2 separate regions of the Homo sapiens genome follow, and region 1 is linked to region 2. The links are contacts of gene promoters, found by promoter capture Hi-C in blood cells and fetal thymus (Javierre and others, 2016). All regions are on one chromosome and are shown on one strand. Each heading gives the region's core, a stretch centred on a gene start or on the middle of the fragment in contact. The rest is flanking DNA. Distances are from core to core; before and after follow the strand shown. Region 1 holds the start of NOC2L (NOC2 like nucleolar associated transcriptional repressor). Region 2 holds the start of TNFRSF18 (TNF receptor superfamily member 18).

What was found. The method cuts DNA at HindIII sites, captures the fragments that hold promoters and counts their contacts. A CHiCAGO score of 5 or more calls a contact.
Region 1: the fragment with the promoter of NOC2L here is called in contact with the fragment with the promoter of TNFRSF18 in region 2 in 2 of 17 cell types (erythroblasts and M0 macrophages); the score reaches 6.7 in erythroblasts.

What each region holds. Positions count from the first base shown.
Region 1 is chr1:956,145-961,043 of GRCh38, reverse strand. It overlaps NOC2L (NOC2 like nucleolar associated transcriptional repressor), which reads left to right and starts at 1,788. Exons shown (of 19, transcript NM_015658.4): 1 at 1,788-1,829; 2 at 1,963-2,115; 3 at 3,771-3,945; 4 at 4,019-4,150; 5 at 4,829-4,899. The coding sequence starts at 1,804. It overlaps KLHL17 (kelch like family member 17), which reads right to left and starts at 460. Exons shown (of 12, transcript NM_198317.3): 1 at 244-460. The coding sequence starts at 350. RefSeq lists silencers at 1-236, 257-566, 1,525-1,784 and enhancers at 1,895-2,004, 1,663-2,520. The HindIII fragment of the contact is 14,217 bases long and covers 1-4,899 here.
Region 2 is chr1:1,205,095-1,210,093 of GRCh38, reverse strand. It overlaps TNFRSF18 (TNF receptor superfamily member 18), which reads left to right and starts at 3,502. Exons shown (of 5, transcript NM_004195.3): 1 at 3,502-3,709; 2 at 4,602-4,724. The coding sequence starts at 3,523. RefSeq lists silencers at 1,067-1,176, 1,757-1,846, 4,719-4,919 and an enhancer at 1,043-1,922. The HindIII fragment of the contact is 24,444 bases long and covers 1-4,999 here.

The DNA.
Region 1 (4,899 bases), core at 539-3,038, 250 kb after region 2:
CGCCCCCACGAGCTCAGCTCCTCCGCGTCCCTAGCCGCCCTCTCGGGACCGCAGCGGGAGTCGCGTCCTGGGCGCGCGGGGCGCGGGTGGGGAACCTACTCCGGGCCGACCCCGCTCCGCACCTGAGTCCCGACCTCCCCCGGCCCTCGGAAGCGGCCCCCGCCCCTTCTGCGAGCGGACGCGAGGGCGGGGGCCGCGCAGGTCCCGAGGCCGCCCCCCGCGCCCCGACCCCCGCCCACTCACGCCGGCGGCTGCGGCGGTGGAGGCGGCGGCGCCTCGGGCCCGGGCCCCGGGCTGCCGTGCTCCGGGCTCTGCGTCCTGCCGGCCGGGCGCTCGCTGCGGGGCTGCATTCGGCTGCCGGACCCACCGCCGATTCGCGGAGGACCCGCGGGCTTAACGGACGCGGAGACTGCCGGAGGGCTGCTCGGCGGTGGCGGCCCGCTCTGTGTCGCTCACTCCCGCCGCTCCCGCCCGCAGCCGCTGTTTCTCGGCGCCGCCCGCCCCGCCTCCCGAGAGGCTTCGGGGACTAGACGTTGGACGCGGATTCTTCCAGCGCTGCGCCCCGGGTCCGCCTCCTCCTCCGAGAAGCACCCCCAGACCCCGCCATCCTCCTCCTCCGGGAAGCCCCCCACCAGGCCTCGCCCTCCTCCTCCTCCGAGAAGCCCCCCTAGGCCTCGCCATCTTCCTTCTCCGAGAAGCCCCCCAGGCCCCGCCATCCTCCTCCTCTGGGAAGCCCCCGGCCTAGCCCTCCTCCTCCTCCTCCTCCGGGAAGCCCCCCTAGGTCTCGCCTTCCTTCTTCCCCGGGAAGCCCCCCACAGGCCTCGCCCTCCTGTTTCTCCGAAGAGCCCTCCTAAGCCTCGCCCTCCTCCTCCTCCAAGGAGCCCCCCTAAGCCTCGCCCTCTTCCTCCTCCGAGGAGCCCCCCAGGCCTCGCCCTCCTCCTCCCCCGGAAGCCATCCCCGCTCCCCCGACCCCCTAACTTGCTCTCCTCCGGGGAGCCCCGGGGCCCCGCGGCACCAAGAAGTCGAATGGGACCCCGAGGCCAATCCGCCCGTGTTCGCCTCACGCGCCCCCTCAGCGCCAGGGCTGGGGGAGCCGTGCCTGCGCCCCGCGGCGCCCTTGTCGCGGGGTCTGGCTGTCCAGGCCCGGGGGCCCGGGTGTCAGGCTGGTAGCGGGAAGGAAGGCGCCGGCCTCCCCACCGTCTTCGTCCCGTGCGGCGTCCCCGGGAAGAGCCGCGGTCGGCACCCAGAGGGCCATGGACGGGGAGCGCCCTGCGTGGTGTTCGTGGCGCTGGCCCGGTCTCCGCGGATCGGAGGCGAAGCCAGCCTGGCCCTCGGGTCGCCCGTCTTTTGTCGAGCTGGCGACATCAGTGCGGTTCCCACTGCCCCTCGCGTTTTCCACTGGACTCCCTGCTTTTTATTGTTGATTTGTGGGAGCTCTTTGCATAGGAGCCCCGCCGTTGCAGTCTGGCGTCCTCGCAGGCGCGTGCCTTCGGAGCGCCGGGTGGGCTGCGGGCGCGGCGGGACTCCCGGTCTTCCCCGGGGCGGACACCGGCGTCACCGCGTCCTACGGAGCCGGGCGCCGAGCGGGAGGCGCATCTGGGCCCCACCGGGGCTGCCCGCACCGAGCACGCGAACGCGCCCTCCCGCCCTGAGGCCGCCGGCGTTGCGGTCGGAGAACCATAGAGCCACTCGGCTGGGCGTGGCGCGGCGGGGCGGGGAAAGGGGCGGGGCCTGGGCGGCGGAAGTGCGCAGCCGCGCGGCATTCTGGGGCCGGAAGTGGGGTGCACGCTTCGGGTTGGTGTCATGGCAGCTGCGGGGAGCCGCAAGAGGTAAGCCGCGGGTCCGAGGGCCGATTTGGCCTCCCGGTGGGTGTCTGTATCCAAGGGGGCTTTTCTTGCTCCTCTCAGCGGGGCTGGGGCGAGCTGGGCGTGCGGGCAGCTGTGACTCCTGCGTGACCCGCAGGCGCCTGGCGGAGCTGACGGTGGACGAGTTCCTAGCTTCGGGCTTTGACTCCGAGTCCGAATCCGAGTCCGAAAATTCTCCACAAGCGGAGACACGGGAAGCACGCGAGGCTGCCCGGAGTCCGGATAAGCCGGGCGGGAGCCCCTCGGCCAGGTTAGTGGGGACATGCGTGAGCAGAACCTCTTGCTCGTCCTGTCCCACCCCGGTTGGGTTGCTGACCTCGCCTGGGGTCTCAGGGCCAAGGCCTAAGGATCGCCGACCTCTGCCCCCCAGTCCTTTCAGCTTAACTTACTCTTTCATCCGATGTTTACTGAGCTCCTGTTCCGTGCCAAACTCTGTCCTAGGCAGGGAGCGTATGTTGGTGAGTTGTGCAAAAATCTCTTCCCGATCTAGGAGAACTCTCACGTTCTTGGGTGAAATCACCGCCTGCAGTTCGGTAGAAGAGAGATAAGTGCTGGGGAGGGAAAGGAAGGACAGAGGGGCTGAAGAGAGAGTTGCAGGGGAGCCGAGTTGCTCTGTTAGAAGGAGCGGAGGCTGTGCTCGGTGGCTCACGCCTGTAATGCCAGCACTTTGGGAGGCCGAGGCGGGCAGATTACCTGAGGTCAGGAATTCGAGACCAGCCTGACCAACACGGAAAAATCATGTCTCTACTAAAAATATAAAAATTAGCCGGGCGTGGTGGGCACCTGTAATCCCAACTACTCGGGAGGCTGAGGCAGGAGAATCGCTTGAACTTGGGAGGCGGAGGTTGCAGTGAGCCGAGATGGCACCATTGCATTCCAGCCTGGGTGAGAGAGTGAGACTCCATCTCAAAAAGAAAAAGAAAGAAATCAAAAGATACAAAAATTAGCCTGGCGTGGTGACACACACCTGTCGTCCCAGCTACTCGGGAGGCTGAGGCAGGAGAATCGCTTGAACCCGGGAGGCGGAGGTTGCGGTGAGTGGAGATTGCGCCACTGCACTCCAGCCTGGGCGACAGAGTGAGATTCCGCCTCAGGAGAAAAAAAAAAAAAAAAAAAAGCGGAGGTGGTTGTTTGAGAAGATGACGTCTGAATAAAGACCTCGAACAAGGAGGCCACACAGACAGTAGGGGAAACGTGTCTTAGGATTTCAGGCAGCAGAAAACAGCAAAAGCCTTGCAGTGGGAGCATTTGGGGAGAGTACAGAGGTAAACGTGGCTACGGCAGGAGTGAGGGGGTGAATAGGGGTAGATGAGCCCAGAAGGGTGATGAAGAGCCAGGTGCCGTAGACCGTCATAAGATTGCCTCGTAAAACAGGGAGTTACTTCTGGGTTTGAGCGGTGGAGTGCCTTGTAGGTGACAAGGGTGGAAACAGAGAGACCTTTAGGTTAACTGAGAATTGAACTATGTGGTGGTTTGAGAGGAGGCACGAACGGTTTTGAAGGTGTTGCTGATGAGATCTGATGACAAGTTGCGTGCTGGGTATTAGAGACAGAGATTTGCCTTTAGTCTGAGCCTCTGGAAGGGTGAAGCCACCATCAGGCAAAAGTAGCGCAGGGCACAGGCACAGCAAGTCCAGGGAAGACCGCGGCTGGGGGCCTGTGTAGCGCAGGGCGCAGGCACAGCAAGTCCAGGGAAGACCGCGGCTGGGGGGCCTGTGTAGTGTGTTTGAGGGTATGTTGTAGAGGTTGTTGGGTAGGAGACGTGAGTCTGCCAAAAACGTACCTCCTGGCAATCCTGTCTTGCTAGTTGGTAACCCTTGTGAAGGGAGTAGACTGACCCTGTAGGCCACTCCCCGCCCCCTCTACTTCCACTTCCCACTGGGGTCGCTGACTTCTGCCTCCTCAGCCGGCGTAAAGGCCGTGCCTCTGAGCACAAAGACCAGCTCTCTCGGCTGAAGGACAGAGACCCCGAGTTCTACAAGTTCCTGCAGGAGAATGACCAGAGCCTGCTAAACTTCAGCGACTCGGACAGCTCTGAGGAGGAAGAGGGGCCGTTCCACTCCCTGCCAGATGTGCTGGAGGTGAGGGCGTGGGCCAAACCAGAAGGGGGGCACTTGTCTCTACACTCTCCTTCAGCTCAGCCTTTCTGTGCAGGAAGCCAGTGAGGAGGAGGATGGAGCGGAGGAAGGAGAAGATGGGGACAGAGTCCCCAGAGGGCTGAAGGGGAAGAAGAATTCTGTTCCTGTGACCGTCGCCATGGTTGAGAGATGGAAGCAGGCAGCAAAGGTGAGCAGCAGCCAGGGGCGGGCAGCTGGGTGCCCAGGCAGAAATCTGGCCTTGCCTCACCTGAGGTGAGCAGCAGCGAGGGGCGGGCAGCTGGGTGCCCAGGCAGAGATCTGGCCTTGCCTCACCTGAGGCGCCTGAGGCTGTGCTGGTGGGAGGGGCTGTTCTCCACGCAGGGGACGCTTGGAGCCTTCTTCAGCGCAAGTGACAACACGTTGCTCCTCCTGCTTGCTTGGTTGCCCCAGGACTGTGTGTTCACTTTTGGGTAGATTCCAGGGGCTCTGTTGGCGCCCCACTCCCCAAAGTCAGTCCCGCTGTGGGTGGGACGGACTGTGCCTTTGTTGGTTGGTGGAGCTGGGGTCCTTCTGAGCCTCTCACAGTGTTTTTTTCCAGGGACAAGGATACGGAGAGCTCCAGATACCACCTGGAGGTGGCCATAGTCCAGGATCTGGAACTCCCAGTCCTTTTCCTGGGGCTCCTGAGCCAGACTCCCTCCTCTTCCCAGAGAATTCTAGACTTTGTTTCCATTTTTGTTATCAGTATGGGGCTCTGTGCCTCCCCCCAACCTCTGCCCTATGTCTGAGGGTGAGGGTGAGGGTGCCTTTCTCTGGGGCTGCCGTTTCCACTCTGCCAAGTGCAGTCTCAGCTCCCCTGACGCCCCTGGTACTCTTGCTCCTTCAGCAACGCCTCACTCCAAAGCTGTTCCATGAAGTGGTACAGGCGTTCCGAGCAGCTGTGGCCACCACCCGAGG
Region 2 (4,999 bases), core at 2,253-4,752:
CTTGCTGTGTCACCCAGGCTGGAGTGCAGTGGTGTGATCTCAGCTCACCAACCTCTGCCTCCCGGGTTCACGCCATTCTCCTGCCTCAGCCTCCCAAGTAGCTGGGACTACAGGCGCCCAGCACCACACCCGGCTAATTTTTGTATTTTATTAGAGACAGGGTTTCACCATGTTGGCTAAGCTGGTCTTGAACTCCTGACCTCAGGTGATCCACCTGCCTCGGTGCCCTGGAGTACTGCGATTCCAGGTGTGAGCCACCACGCCTGGCCCTCACTGCACTCATGAGCAAGAAACACACAGCCGAGGCCGGTCACGGTGGCTCACGCCTAGAATCCTAGCACTTTGGGAGGCTGAGGCCAGACGATCGTCTGAGCTCAGGAGTTTGAGACCCGCCTGGGTAACATGGCAAGACCCTTTTCTATGAAAAATAGAAAAAATCAGCCGGGTGTGGTGGTGCATGCCTGTGGTCCCGGCTACTTGGGAGGCCGAGGTGGGAGGATCACTTGAGCCCAAGAGATGGAGGCTGCAGTGAGACGTGACTGGAAAAAAAAAAAGAAATTTAAAAAAATTACTTAAGAAGAAACACATGAAGCCTCATGGAAGGTTTTGCTGAGGGCCTGGCACAGCCTGGACACTCCGGCTACCGTGGCTGGTGTGGCCCAGCCCCGCAGCTGCACCCGCTGCCCCACACAGCGTCCCTGGGCCAGCCTTCCCTCTCCCTGCGTCCTCCAACAGCGCACGCTGCCCACGGCTGTCCAGGCCTCCTGTGCCTGGCGGATGGCTCCCCCCTGCCGGTGTCGTGGAAGTGGGGAACCGGCCCCGGGGGTGCACAGTGGGAGCGCCACGCGCCACTCACAACAGCCCAAGGTGCCGGGACCACAGGTGGCTGTAAGGAAGACGCCCATCTCTGGCCTCGGGCTGCCCTGGACCCCTCCTGCCTCTGCAGCTGGTTTTCTCCCCTGGGTCTCTCTCTCCTCAAACCTCTGTCTTCCACCCACTCTCTGCTAACCACAAGCCTCCCCCCCCGCAGCATAGGGAAGTCAGAGGCCGTCCTGTCCCCCATCCAGCACCTTCACCGAGTTCCCCGGGTTCCTGCACACGGTTCAGCCTGCAGGCCCTGCACAGGGTTGGGGCCGCGCCTCTGAGAGCCCCCCGCCCCCCGCCCCGTGGGGCAGGCGAGGCCAGACCTCCAGGCAGGATGGCGGGTGGGTGGGGGAAGGGGTCAGGTGGCCGGGACTGGAGCGGCCAGATCCTGTGGGGCCCGCAGGTCGACGGCTATGGGAAAGGGGCCTCCTCCCCAAACCTGGCGCCCATACCCATCGCTTCCTGTCTCCTCCCCTCTGGGCACAGCACCCCCCAGGCCCCGTGGGACTTATTCCCCAGCAGGACCCCTTGCCGCACCCCCAGATGGACACGGGGCCACCTCCTCTTGGTCTCCATGCTCACCCTCCCCGCCCCCTCGCCTGACGCCATCTCTGCTGGCAACTCCTGTGCCATCTGTGCCGAAGGCCCTGCCTGAACTCTGGCTCAGTGCCCATCTGCACCCTCCCCGTGGGGCCTCACAGCTGCCCTTCTGGACGTACGCAAGGGCTGTCCCTCGCCCGGCCCGTGGGCTGCTCTGCTGTGTGAATGCCCCGTCATTTGTGTCACCGGTGAGCTGCTCAATAAGATGAACAAGTCACCTCCAGCCTCGCAGCCCAAGGATAGGAGTCACGGGGAGCCGGGGAGGGGCCTTCTGCGGCGAGAGGGATGGGAGGGTGGACGTCACACCCCTGCAGCCCCTCCGGGGACCACCCTGTGTGGCAAGCTGCTCTCCGGCTGTTCAAAGTGTCAGCTGCGCCACGGGGCGGGGGGGAGGGGCTCCTCTGCCCGCTGGCCGCCTCCCACTTGGCCCCATAAACTGCTCGCTCCTCTAACTCTGTCCCTGCCTCTAGATGGATGACTCACACCGTGTGGTCTGATGAGCATTCTTTATTTTTTGTGATGGAGTCTCGCTCTGTCACCCAGGCTGGAGTGCAATGGTGCCATCTTGGTTCGCCGCAACCTCTGCCTCCCAGGTTCAAGCAATTCTCCTGCCTCAGCCTCCCGAGTAGCTGGGATTACAGGCGTGCGCCACCACGCCTGGCTAATTTTTTTTGTATTTTTAGTAGAGACGGGCTTTCTCCATGTGGGTCAGGCTGGTCTCGAACCCCTGACCTCAGGTGATCCGAGGCCCACCTCGGCCTCCCAAAATGCTGGGATTACGGGCGTGAGCCACTGATGGCGCCTCTTTCTATCCAGGGGCCCAGACCCCCTCCCAGCCTCGGGGCTGAAGATCTCCAGGCCTCTCAAAGGCCCCCAGGCCCAGCTGGCCCCACCCCTTTCCTTCCGAGCGTCGGGGCGGCCTGGAGCTGCAGAGACCCCTTCCTTCTCTGCAGTGTCTGAGGGCTGCCTCTCCAAGGCAGGCTCCTACATCTTGGATTTGAGAACTCCGGGGTGTCACAAACAGCTAATTCCTGTCATTTACCTTGGAAAAGGAGGAACCGCCTTACGGGGTGAGGCGGTGGCTGCAGGTCTCAAAAGGGTGTTGAACCACATCCACGCTCACGTTCCCGAGAGCCCCCACCCCCAGCATTCATGGGGGTCTCCACCTGTGCTGGACGGCGCAGAAGCAGGGCTGGGCAATCCAGGGAGGCTTCCTGGTGGAGGCAGGGTCCCAGAACCCCTCGGTGCCCACAGGGGAAACTGAGGCTCAGAAAGACATAGGACAGTCTCCCAAGAGCTCTGCGAGGGGCTCCTCCTCAACTCCCTCCGGGACCTGGATCTGTCTGGTGTGACGGATGAAGGTGGCTCTGAGAGACCGGGCCCTGGGTGCCCGCGGGGGCGGCTGACACTGTCCCGAGGAGGCGCCAGCACCCTCTCGTCTCCCCACCAGCTCCTCCTGGTGCCCCTCCCAAGCCCCGGGGAACTTCCCAGGTTGGCCTGAGGGGGGTCCTGGAGAGCTGCAAGCAAGGGGGAGGGGAGCCCACAGGCCTGCAGCCCATGGTGAGTTTCACACCTGAAGCCAGCCAGGTGGGGTGTGCTGAGCCGAGGGGTCCCTGTCCCCATTCTGTGGGGTTCCCCAGCACGGGGCTCCATGGTTGAGGCTCTCTGGGGGTGGCCAGAATTTGTGGAGACCTCTCGGGGACTCGCAGATACCACCCGGAGGCAGTGGGATGGAGGAGTGATTGGCTGACCCCCGCCCTCCAAGGGGCCCCCATGGGACAAGGTGCTATAAACGCCGCCCCCTGCACTGGGGACACCAATGTGGCCGCAGACTTTGCATAGAAAACCTTTCTGATCCCCGCCAGCCTGGTTTCCCCGCCCCTGCCGGCGACCTGCGGGGGACCGGGCTGTGTCCGCAGTGTCTACACCCCCTCCTCACACGCACTTCACCTGGGTCGGGATTCTCAGGTCATGAACGGTCCCAGCCACCTCCGGGCAGGGCGGGTGAGGACGGGGACGGGGCGTGTCCAACTGGCTGTGGGCTCTTGAAACCCGAGCATGGCACAGCACGGGGCGATGGGCGCGTTTCGGGCCCTGTGCGGCCTGGCGCTGCTGTGCGCGCTCAGCCTGGGTCAGCGCCCCACCGGGGGTCCCGGGTGCGGCCCTGGGCGCCTCCTGCTTGGGACGGGAACGGACGCGCGCTGCTGCCGGGTTCACACGACGCGCTGCTGCCGCGATTACCCGGGTAAGTAAACCGCGTTTACTTAACGCGGACCGGCCAAGGCGTCCCGCGGAAGCCGGGATGGGTGGGCGCCCCCCTTCCCGTGCTCAGACCGGCGTTGCTGAGGTCTAAGGAGGGTGGGCACAGAGCCGCCAGCAGCGGGAGCCTTCCGGAGGGAGGCAGGATCCCAGAGGGAGGCGGAGGTGTGCCAGCTCCAGCCAGTGGCCCCGGCCGGGAGCAGGGGTGAGCCAGGTGGGAGCGCCCTCAAGAGGGGTCTGGGGTCTGGAGGTGGAGGACGGCTGTTCCAGGTCCTGCTGGGCGGGTCGTGAGCCCTTGGCCATCGCCCAGCCCCCTCCTGCCCAGTTGAGGGCCCCCCTGCACCACCGTCTGGCCTGCTGCCTGCCTCTGACCTGCACCTGGGGATGAGGGTTCAGCTGACACGGCTGGTCTGGAGAGGAAGCTGGCAGGGAAGTCACCCCAGAGCTTCTTCCTCCAGGGCCTGTGGGTTGGGAAGGGAGGCTCTGTCCGGAGGCCCAGTGTGGCTGGTGGTGGGGACAGCAGCGCCCAGACACCAGGCAGGCGGCCTCTGAGGTGTCGACGGGCCTCCAGGGGACTGTGCACTGTTGGGGGCCACCCCTGGGTCCTGCAGGGGCAGCTCCTGGTTGCATATGGAGTTAGCACCTGGGCAGGGGCAGCTGTGGGGCGCAAAGGGGGAGTAGCCAGGCCACATGGCCCCAGGAGAAAGAGACAGCTGGATAAACCCAGGGTCCAGACTCCCAGCCAGGAGCCCTCTGCTCCCTGGAGCCAACTGTGGGTGGAGAACGGACAACCTCACTCCCCTGGAGGGCCGAGGGGAGGCCTGGGGAGGAGGGGGCCTCAGCCCAGCTGCTGGGGGGCTGGCCTGTCTCCTGCCCAGGCGAGGAGTGCTGTTCCGAGTGGGACTGCATGTGTGTCCAGCCTGAATTCCACTGCGGAGACCCTTGCTGCACGACCTGCCGGCACCACCCTTGTCCCCCAGGCCAGGGGGTACAGTCCCAGGGTAAGTCCTGGAGGTGCCTCTGGGAGTCCACACAGGCCAGGGGTTCCACTAGGGCCCGAGGCAGAGCTCGTGGGCACAGGTGTCCGGCGAGGACATGTGGTGTGTGGGGTCCGGAGTCCTGTGAGGCCGGGCAGGCCAGGCCATGCTCAGGCACCACAGGCCATGAAGCTCTGGGGGTGTCCTGTCCCTGCTTTCTCAGCCTGGGCTTCTCCATCCAGCACGAGGGCTGTGAGAACCCTGCGGGGAGGTGGGGGCGGGTTCCAGGAGCTGTCTGG